Linked DNA regions of Homo sapiens: all the other regions are linked to region 1. The links are contacts of gene promoters, found by promoter capture Hi-C in blood cells and fetal thymus (Javierre and others, 2016). All regions are on one chromosome and are shown on one strand. Each heading gives the region's core, a stretch centred on a gene start or on the middle of the fragment in contact. The rest is flanking DNA. Distances are from core to core; before and after follow the strand shown.

Region 1 (2,704 bases), core at 100-2,599:
TCTCCCTAGCAGTCATCTCCTTGTAAGATTATTTACTTACATATTTGTTTAGTGGTTGTTTATACCCACAAAAACATATGCTCTATAAGGACATGGATTCTTATATGTTTTGTTAACTTGATGTTTTCCTAGTTCCTTGAACAGCACTTGATATACAGTATGTGCTCAATAAATAGTTGTTATATGCATAAATAAAAAATATTTTATTTTATTTATTTATTATTATTATTTTTTGAGAAGGAGTCTTGCTCTGTCGCCCAGGCTGGAGTGTAGTGGCGCGATCCCAGCTCACTGCAACCTCTGCCTCCCGGGTTCAAGCAATTCTCCTGCCTCAGCCTCCTGAGTAGCTGGGAGTACAGGCATGTGCCACCATGCCCAGCTAATTTTCGTATTTTGTATTCATGTATAAATTTTTGGCTCGCTCAAGGGTTTCACAACTTTCCATGTTATGAGTATATAAATTTGTATATGGAGAAAAAGGAATAACTTCGAGGTAGCTCAGGTTCATGAAGCTAGCTCTTGATACAATGAAGTATGTCATCCTGTGAACATGTGCACTTTAATTCCTTCTTATATTGCTATTAGGATTACAGTGACTTTTTCTTAATTTTGCTATTCATTCTGCGCAACTGTTTGCCTTTTTGGGAGTTCTATCACCATGTTATTACTGCAAACTGCGAACTCTTTTTAAGGTTCTTTCCTGCTTATGTTACCATCTTTCTTTTCTGGTCAAATAACAAATGGTGAGTTATGAAACATTTCTGTGTAGATTTTTATTTTGACCTGAGCAGGAAGCCAAGATATAACAGCTCCCAGGAATTAAGGATTGTTAAGAGCGACGAGTCTCCACTTCTTAAACTTTGTCTCTCCTGGGCCCTTCAGCCAGCCCCTGCGTCCGCAACGCTGAACCATCTCTGGGGCCACCACCTGCATCCTCCAGCCCTTTCCAGGGGTCCCTCCTCTGGCCGGCGCCCTCCCCAGTGCCCCGCCAGCGCTTACCAACGCCGGCGGAATTCGTGCTTCTCTTCCTCCGTGGTGGCTAAAGCCTTCTTTTTCCTCATAAAGCCTAACAACTCCTGGATCTCCTTCTCACAAGAGGCCAGGAGCGGGTTTTTCGCGTCCAGCGGCCCATAAAACACGGCTAGGGGCAATGAGTCCTCGGGGCAGGTCCACTGAAGCAGCGAGCTCCGGGAGCTCCCCTTCGACTCTGGGGGCGACCTCGAAGTCGCGGTGGAGGTCGGCGGCAGTTCTGGCAGAGACCCCGAGGTGGTAGAGTCGTCTGACGGAGAGCTCGAGGGGGAGCCCTGCGCCGCCATATTGACGCGCCCCGGCCCGCCTGGAGTATGTGTACACGCGGTTGCCTGGCGACGGTCTCGTGGCAACCGGGCATCCCGCGCGCATTCCGAGAAACACAGCGGCCCCTGGAGGGCAGAGCGAGAAAGAACCAGGTCCAGAAAACAATGATGCTCCTGAGGGCGTTGCCTGGTTGTGCGCTGGCACCGCTGTATGAAATGCGAACAGAGAATGTTCTGAGCAGAGCGCTGGCGAATATTAGAGCCAAAAATTTAAGGTCACAAATCCAGACTATACTCTTTATCCATGTTGGCCACTTAATAACGATAATGATGACGACCATGACCATTAACGTGTGTCAGGCATTAAGCATTTGAAACATGTACTTTCATTTATCTCATTTAATCATCATAACTACTTTACAACTTAGGATACTATTAGTATATCCATCTCACAGTTTAGGAAACCAAAGCTCAAGGAGGTTAAGTCATTTGACAAAAGTCAGCGTACAACCGTAGTGTCAGCGACCAGGTCCTCCAAAGGGAACTTGTGACTCCAAAGCCTGTGCTCAAAATGAATAGGCTGTATTGATCACTCCCCAAAACAAAGCTTATTAATCAAATTGAAATTAGAGAAATATCTGACAAGCAGTTTAAGAATCAAATACAGTTGGCCCTCCAAATCTCGGGTTCTTCATCTGTGGATTCAAGCAACTCCAGATTGTAAATATTCAGAACAAAATTAGAAATAACAATACAACAATAAAAATAACACAAAATACAACTATTTACATGGCATTTATACTGTATTAGGTATTACTAGTTATCTAGAGATGATTTAAAACATCCTGAAGGATGTGCACAAATTATATGCAAATACTACAGCATTTCATATCAGAGGCTTGAGCATCCACAGATTTTGGTATCTGCGGGTGTCATGGAACTAGTCCCCCACAGATAGCCAGGGAGTACTGAATATGCAGCTGATCCATTCTCTTTCCTCTATTTGTACCTTGAGGTCTGTAACTGTGGACATGATGTCTATGCCTCTAATAATTATGATTACATCTATTTATGCACATTCCAGCCTTACTTTAATTATCTCTGTATTCTAAATTAATGTGCATTTTGCTCAACCTTAACCATAGGACATTAATACATACTAGTGGCCTGAAGTGTTAACTCTCAAAATACTTTGCATTTTAAACAGGGCTTTTAGGAGACTTTACTTCTGATGGGGAAACTACAGACCTCCAGGGAAATACTTGGGGAGTTTATTCTTAGCCTGTGTATTATAGGCAAAAGTCAGAGTTAAATTTATTAAAGTATGAGTATTGAGAAAATGGAGAACCTTCTTTTCTATAAATTATGCAACACAATAAATTATCTAAGAGAAGAACCAGAAATATTTG
Region 2 (2,704 bases), core at 84-2,583, 320 kb after region 1:
CCCTGGCTGAACATAATGGAAGTCATTCGTTCTGGAAAAAGCAATTCAGAAAAAGATATCCCCTAAAAATCTAGCACAGTCCACTCAGAACTCCATCCTCTGATGGGCTGGGGAAGATCCTTAGACTTATGAGCTATTTTGAGGGGGGTAGGGGGTACTTTAATTTCCCATAAGGGCAAGTGTCTAGGAAATCTGTCTACTAACTGTAACTGTTTGCTCCTGAAATGTGTGATTGGCCCCATCTGAGAGGTGACGGATGCTCCTTTTAGTGCCTGGCAGTCCCCATTACAGCGAGTGTGGAAGTGACTTCTGTGATCCCTAGCCAATGTGAAGCCTTTCAGTCAGGAAGAAGAGTGGAGAGAAACTTCTTACATTTCAAAGTTTGCCCTTGAGAAGGCCTTTTCCCTCACGCCCCTCTTCCCAAAACCAGGGAATCTGATAACATTTTTCTATAATTTTTTTTTTGTCACCTATCTATGTAACCAGAGGCAGAAAGGAACGACTTGGTTTAAAACACAAGGCCGAGGCATAAGGTGGCGTGAGTCCCCAAAGCTGCTCCCTGGTTTCATCTAGGCCCTCTTCTTTCAGATTTAGTGATGGAATTCTCCCTGTTAGAGCCGTGGTTTTCATAACCCTAAAACCAGAGCTGTGCGGCCTCAGGGTGGGCAGCCGAGATTCCTGTGGCAGCTTCTTCTGAGCCCTGGGGGGTGGGAGGACAGACGGCAAGCGGGGTGGAAAGGGACAACTCCAGCCCTCACTAGTTACTTGGGGGTGGAGTGAGGATACATTTCTTGTGTCCCTTATGGTTGAGTTTCTCAAAGCTCATCTCTGGCTGAAACCAGGGAGCCGAACCAAACCCCTGCCTCGTGGGAAGCAATGATGTAGCCACTTTCAGCTTTTGTTCAAATGCTCCTGAAAGGGAGCCGCCCTATCACACACGGAACTTCAGGAAAGCTCATGCCCTCCCCAGAAATGACAAATGGAAAAGACAGAACAGTCTCCGGCCAGGCCAGGATACAGTCTCTGGAAAGAGATTGTTTTTGTCTCCATTGCCATAGAAAACACATCCTTTTAACTTAATAAGTAGGGAAACAGCATAATCACACGCGCTGGAGGTTACCAAGGTGAACAGAATCCAAGATTAAAATCTGCCAGTCCAGGGGTGCATGGAAGCATGGGAGGCCCAAAGAGGAAATCTAGTTTGCTGTTGGTAAATTTTTTTGGATGCTGTTTATGTTTGAACTTTTCTCTGTTTTCCTGTAGAAACTTCCGTACCCTCTTCCTGTGTCCCTACAAAAGCCTGGACAATGCAGTCCCAGCCCTGCTGCAGAACATGGGCAGGCCCCACCTTCCTCCTTCCTGCAGGGATATCCTTTCCTATAGAAGAGGTAAGAATGTAAGGTTCATGTGAAAATGTGATTATATTCCTTATCTCAGTCATTTCATGATTTGCTGTTTGGCGACAATAAGTCAGCCTGGCCACATTCACAATAGAGGTGGCCCCGGTTCCTAGTTTTGGCTCGTGCTGTTTTCTCAGCTGAAGAGGGCAACCGGCTGTTAAAAACGCTGCCTGTTTTCCAGGATCTTATCAGGAGTTCATGTCTAAGGCCAGAAAGAGAAGGGAGGGCTCCATTTTTTTTCCTCTCTCCTCATTGTTTCCAACTGAATTGGCAGGAAATAGGAGTCCTCCACCTGTCCCTCTCGGGAGCAAAATTGATTCGATTCCATTTTTCAGATGTATCCGCTACCACCAGAAATTGGGGACATTTCCGCTCACCCCAAAATGAATGCGTTCCTGGATTGACACAAATGACATCTTTCAGAATTGCAAATTAATCACATTTAAATGGGGATGTTTGGGACGGGGGATTGGTGTCAATTGCCCCACAGAATCTCAGGTTTGCTTTCTCTTCTCATTCACCCTTTTGTGAAGTGCCTTTTAGGGCTGTGGGGCTTGACTGACTCCAACAAGTTTGTGTGAATGTGGTGTGTGTGTGTGTGTGTAGTGTGTGTGAATGTGGTGTGTGTGTGTGTGAATGTGGTGTGTGTGTGTTTAGTGTGTGTGAATGCGGTGCATGTGTGTAGTGTGTGTGGATGTGCTGTGTGTGTGTAGTGTGTGTGAATGTGGTGTGTGTGTGTAGTGTGTGTGAATGTGGTGTGTGTGTGTAGTGTGTGTGAATGCGGTGTGTGTAGTGTGTGTGAATGTGGTGTGTGTGTAGTGTGTGTGAATGTGGTGTGTGTGTGTGTAGTGTGTGTGAATGTGGTGTGTGTGTGAATGTGGTGTGTGTGTGTGGTGTGTGTGAATGCGGTGTGTGTGTGTAGTGTGTGTGAATGTGGTGTGTGTGTGTGTGTGTGTAGTGTGTGTGAATGTGGTGTGTGTTTGTGTGTAGTGTGTGTAGTTTGCATGTACCATCAATGGCGTGGACACTCAGAGAACTGAAATCCTTCGCTCAGGGTCTCACATAAATCAAAACAGTTCCCTTTCACAGCTGCCTTAGAGCATATGTTTCAGGCAGGGTAATACAGGATCCAGACAGAAGCTAAGTCCATTTCTCAAGACTCATAGTGGGCTTGTGGTTGACCTAGTATTTTCCACTTAACCCAGTTCAGCCAATTCAGCCAATTTGAACAAAAATCAGGGTCTGTCTAGATGCTTTATTTCATCTAAAAACAACCCCAGATGATTCTATTTTGAGGGGATCAA
Region 3 (2,704 bases), core at 81-2,580, 300 kb after region 1:
AAAGTGTCACAACTCCTGAAACGGTGAGACATTGCCATAGTTTTCAGGATGAATACAAATGAGAATGTGTACCAACCAGCTGCCGGTCAAAATCACTTCGTACATGCTATAAATCTGACATGCTCAGAAAGGTACAAATGGTCTTTGGCCCTTTCCCTTTCAATGATGCCCAGAGTTCCTGTGCAAACAACTGTTTTGGATTTTAAACGTGTAGATCAAGAAAATCAAGTATTTTATCTTTTGTTTTGATCCTAGAAGGTGTTGGACAAGGCTTTGTAGGAAACTGCAGTCTTTTTTTTTTTTAAATCGGGCAGCATCAGACAGTTACAGGAAGCTCAGGAAATACTGTGAAGGGCAGGATGTCACGCTGTGCATTGATGGCAAAGATGGGGAAGAGGTGGTCGGGCCTTTCAAGACCAACTCCTTAAGGGTGGAAAAAGCTAAGTCATTGGAGATTCATGATCACATTTTTTAAAAATCCCTAAAAATAATTTGAGAGCAGCAAAGGGAAGACCAGGACCATGACACTAAGTGCAAGGATGATTGTAGAGTAGGGTCTTCAGAACAAGTAGAAGCTCCAAGGCACAAGCGTAAAATTCCTTCTCCTCAAGAATCTATTTGCATGGGTTGATAGGCTTTGTCTGGGAAGGCTGGAGCCAAAGGGGAGTTGCGGTAAAAAATCAAGAAAAAGAAGCTGTTTCCTGTGAAACTTCAGGAAATTCTGAACACAGGCATGTCTTCCCTTTGGGGGCCAGCACAGAGATGAAGAGGGCATTTTCTCCACATTGGCATGGAACCTGATGGTCCCTGCAGGCATGAGGGGGGGCCCCAAATGAGGAAGCCAGAAAGCACAGAATATGAACAAACATGTTCTGGAAATGTAGGATTCCCCAGCCCCCTGACCCCTTATTCCCTCCTGTCTCTGTCTGGAGGCATTTCCAGTAGGAACGGCAGAGGTAGGTTCTCTAACTGGCAAGTTTAGGAGAAGAAACTGGCATGCTTGGCTCAGCTTCCTCCTCTCTCCTCTTTCGGAGCCAGCTTGTCTCAGGAACACATGGTCTCAGTTCTCCCTGCTAGGGGGATGCCTGCAGTCTTTTGGCTTAGCCTAGGTAGGCAAACTCGGTCTTGGGGGCAAAATGACAAACGAACCCATTGTGCCTGCAGTTGGAAGGGTATCATCCAATTTAGCTTTTGTCTCATAAGACTATCATTTTGATCTCCATCAGTCTGGCTCCTGGGTATACCTCTCAATTGATTCTGAAATTGGACAGGGAAGAGGGAAACCATTTATTGGGCTCCTAAAACCCCAGCCAGGTCGTGTGAGACCCCACCTTGGCACTCTTGAGAAACAACTGGAGAAGAGTGTTGATGGTAAGGAGTGGGTATTGAATTTCCATATGAGCAGGGAGAGATTGAACAATGTCCTAACTGGGGCATCTGTGGTCTTAGGGCCTCATGTGTACCCACAGGCCGATTTAGCTACCAATGTAACCCAAGATGGGAGAGAAGAGAAACGCTGTTCTGCAGGCTGTTTTTGGGAGCCATACATGGTGGTTTGGAGGTAAAATCTGTCATGCTATTGAATTCGCTTTAAATTGAGTGACTTCTGTAGGCCACTGTGAGGGTACTGAGGTTAGAAGCAGGTACTGGGGTGAAAGGAAAAGAAGCATCCTCTCCCTGGAAGCATCTCTTCCTGGAAGCATCATGACACTGGATACTCTTAGGAGGGTGAGACTTGGTAATCCACTCATACCCCTTTCTCTCCACAGCAATACACATTTCTTGAATAAATGCCATGGATACTTAAGGAGAAAAAATAATTATTAGAAAATACATATAATGCCACAGTCTAAAAAAGTGCCATTAAATAGATTAAGCCATTGATCCCTGATATTATTAATCCCGTTTTATGTTTGATACAAGTGACGAACAGAGATGTTAAGAGATTTATGGGCTCAAGGTCACACGGTTAACAAGTGATGGAGTTGGAACTAAAATCCAGGTTTTCTGATCTAAATCCAAATCCTTTCCGCTATTCTTTGCTGTATGACAATAGAGGACCACAAGAAAATAAAGAGAAGCACTCAGAAAGCAGAGTCAGGGAAACTGGATCGGACTCCTGGTTCTACCATGAACTTGAATCACCTGAGATTCAGCCTCTTTGCCTATAAAACTGTGTGCTGAGGGCTTGGACTAGAGTGTGTCTAAGACTCTGACATGCTGAGAAGGTCCTGGGTGGTTCTCTGCTTTAGGTCGCTGTCTTAGTCTGTTGGGGCTGCTATCACAAAATACCATAAACTGGGTGGCTTAATTCAACACCAGACATTTGTTTCTTATGGTTCTGGAGTCTAGGAAGTCCAAGATCAAGGTGCTGACAGACTTGGTGTCTGGTGGAGGCCCAATTTCTGGTTCATAGATGGCACCTTCCTGCTGTGTCCTCACACGGCAGAAGGAGTGAGGGGTCTAGGCCCCTTTCCTAAGGTACTAACCCCATTCATGAGGGCTTTATTCTCATAACCTAATCACCCCTGAAAACCTCTCTCCCAATACCATCACCTTGGGGGTTAGAATTTCAACATATGAATTTTTGGGGAACACAAACATTCAGATGCCAGTGTGTTCAGAGTTGGTTCCTACCAGTGGGTTCGTGGTCTCGCTGACTTCAAGAATGAAGCTGCGGACCTTCGCAGTGAGTGTTATAGCT

Evidence for each region. The method cuts DNA at HindIII sites, captures the fragments that hold promoters and counts their contacts. A CHiCAGO score of 5 or more calls a contact.
Region 2: a contact is called between a fragment that was not itself captured here and the fragment with the promoter of CFAP54 in region 1, in 1 of 17 cell types (M2 macrophages). The highest score is 5.0, in M2 macrophages.
Region 3: a contact is called between a fragment that was not itself captured here and the fragment with the promoter of CFAP54 in region 1, in 1 of 17 cell types (naive CD4 T cells). The highest score is 5.9, in naive CD4 T cells.

Annotation. Positions count from the first base shown.
Region 1 is chr12:96,488,222-96,490,925 of GRCh38, reverse strand. It overlaps CFAP54 (cilia and flagella associated protein 54), which reads right to left and starts at 1,349. Exons shown (of 68, transcript NM_001306084.2): 1 at 1,000-1,349. The coding sequence starts at 1,316. RefSeq lists an enhancer at 1,101-1,310 and a silencer at 1,201-1,495. The HindIII fragment of the contact is 3,410 bases long and covers 1-1,904 here.
Region 2 is chr12:96,163,991-96,166,694 of GRCh38, reverse strand. LINC02452 (long intergenic non-protein coding RNA 2452) reads left to right here. Exons shown (of 3, transcript XR_945239.3): 2 at 1,264-1,388. Among named protein-coding and RNA genes, the nearest start is that of LINC02452, 7.1 kb to the left of the region's middle. RefSeq lists a silencer at 110-404. The HindIII fragment of the contact is 2,795 bases long and covers 1-2,704 here.
Region 3 is chr12:96,184,453-96,187,156 of GRCh38, reverse strand. No RefSeq gene overlaps it. Among named protein-coding and RNA genes, the nearest start is that of ELK3, 8.6 kb to the left of the region's middle. The HindIII fragment of the contact is 2,888 bases long and covers 1-2,704 here.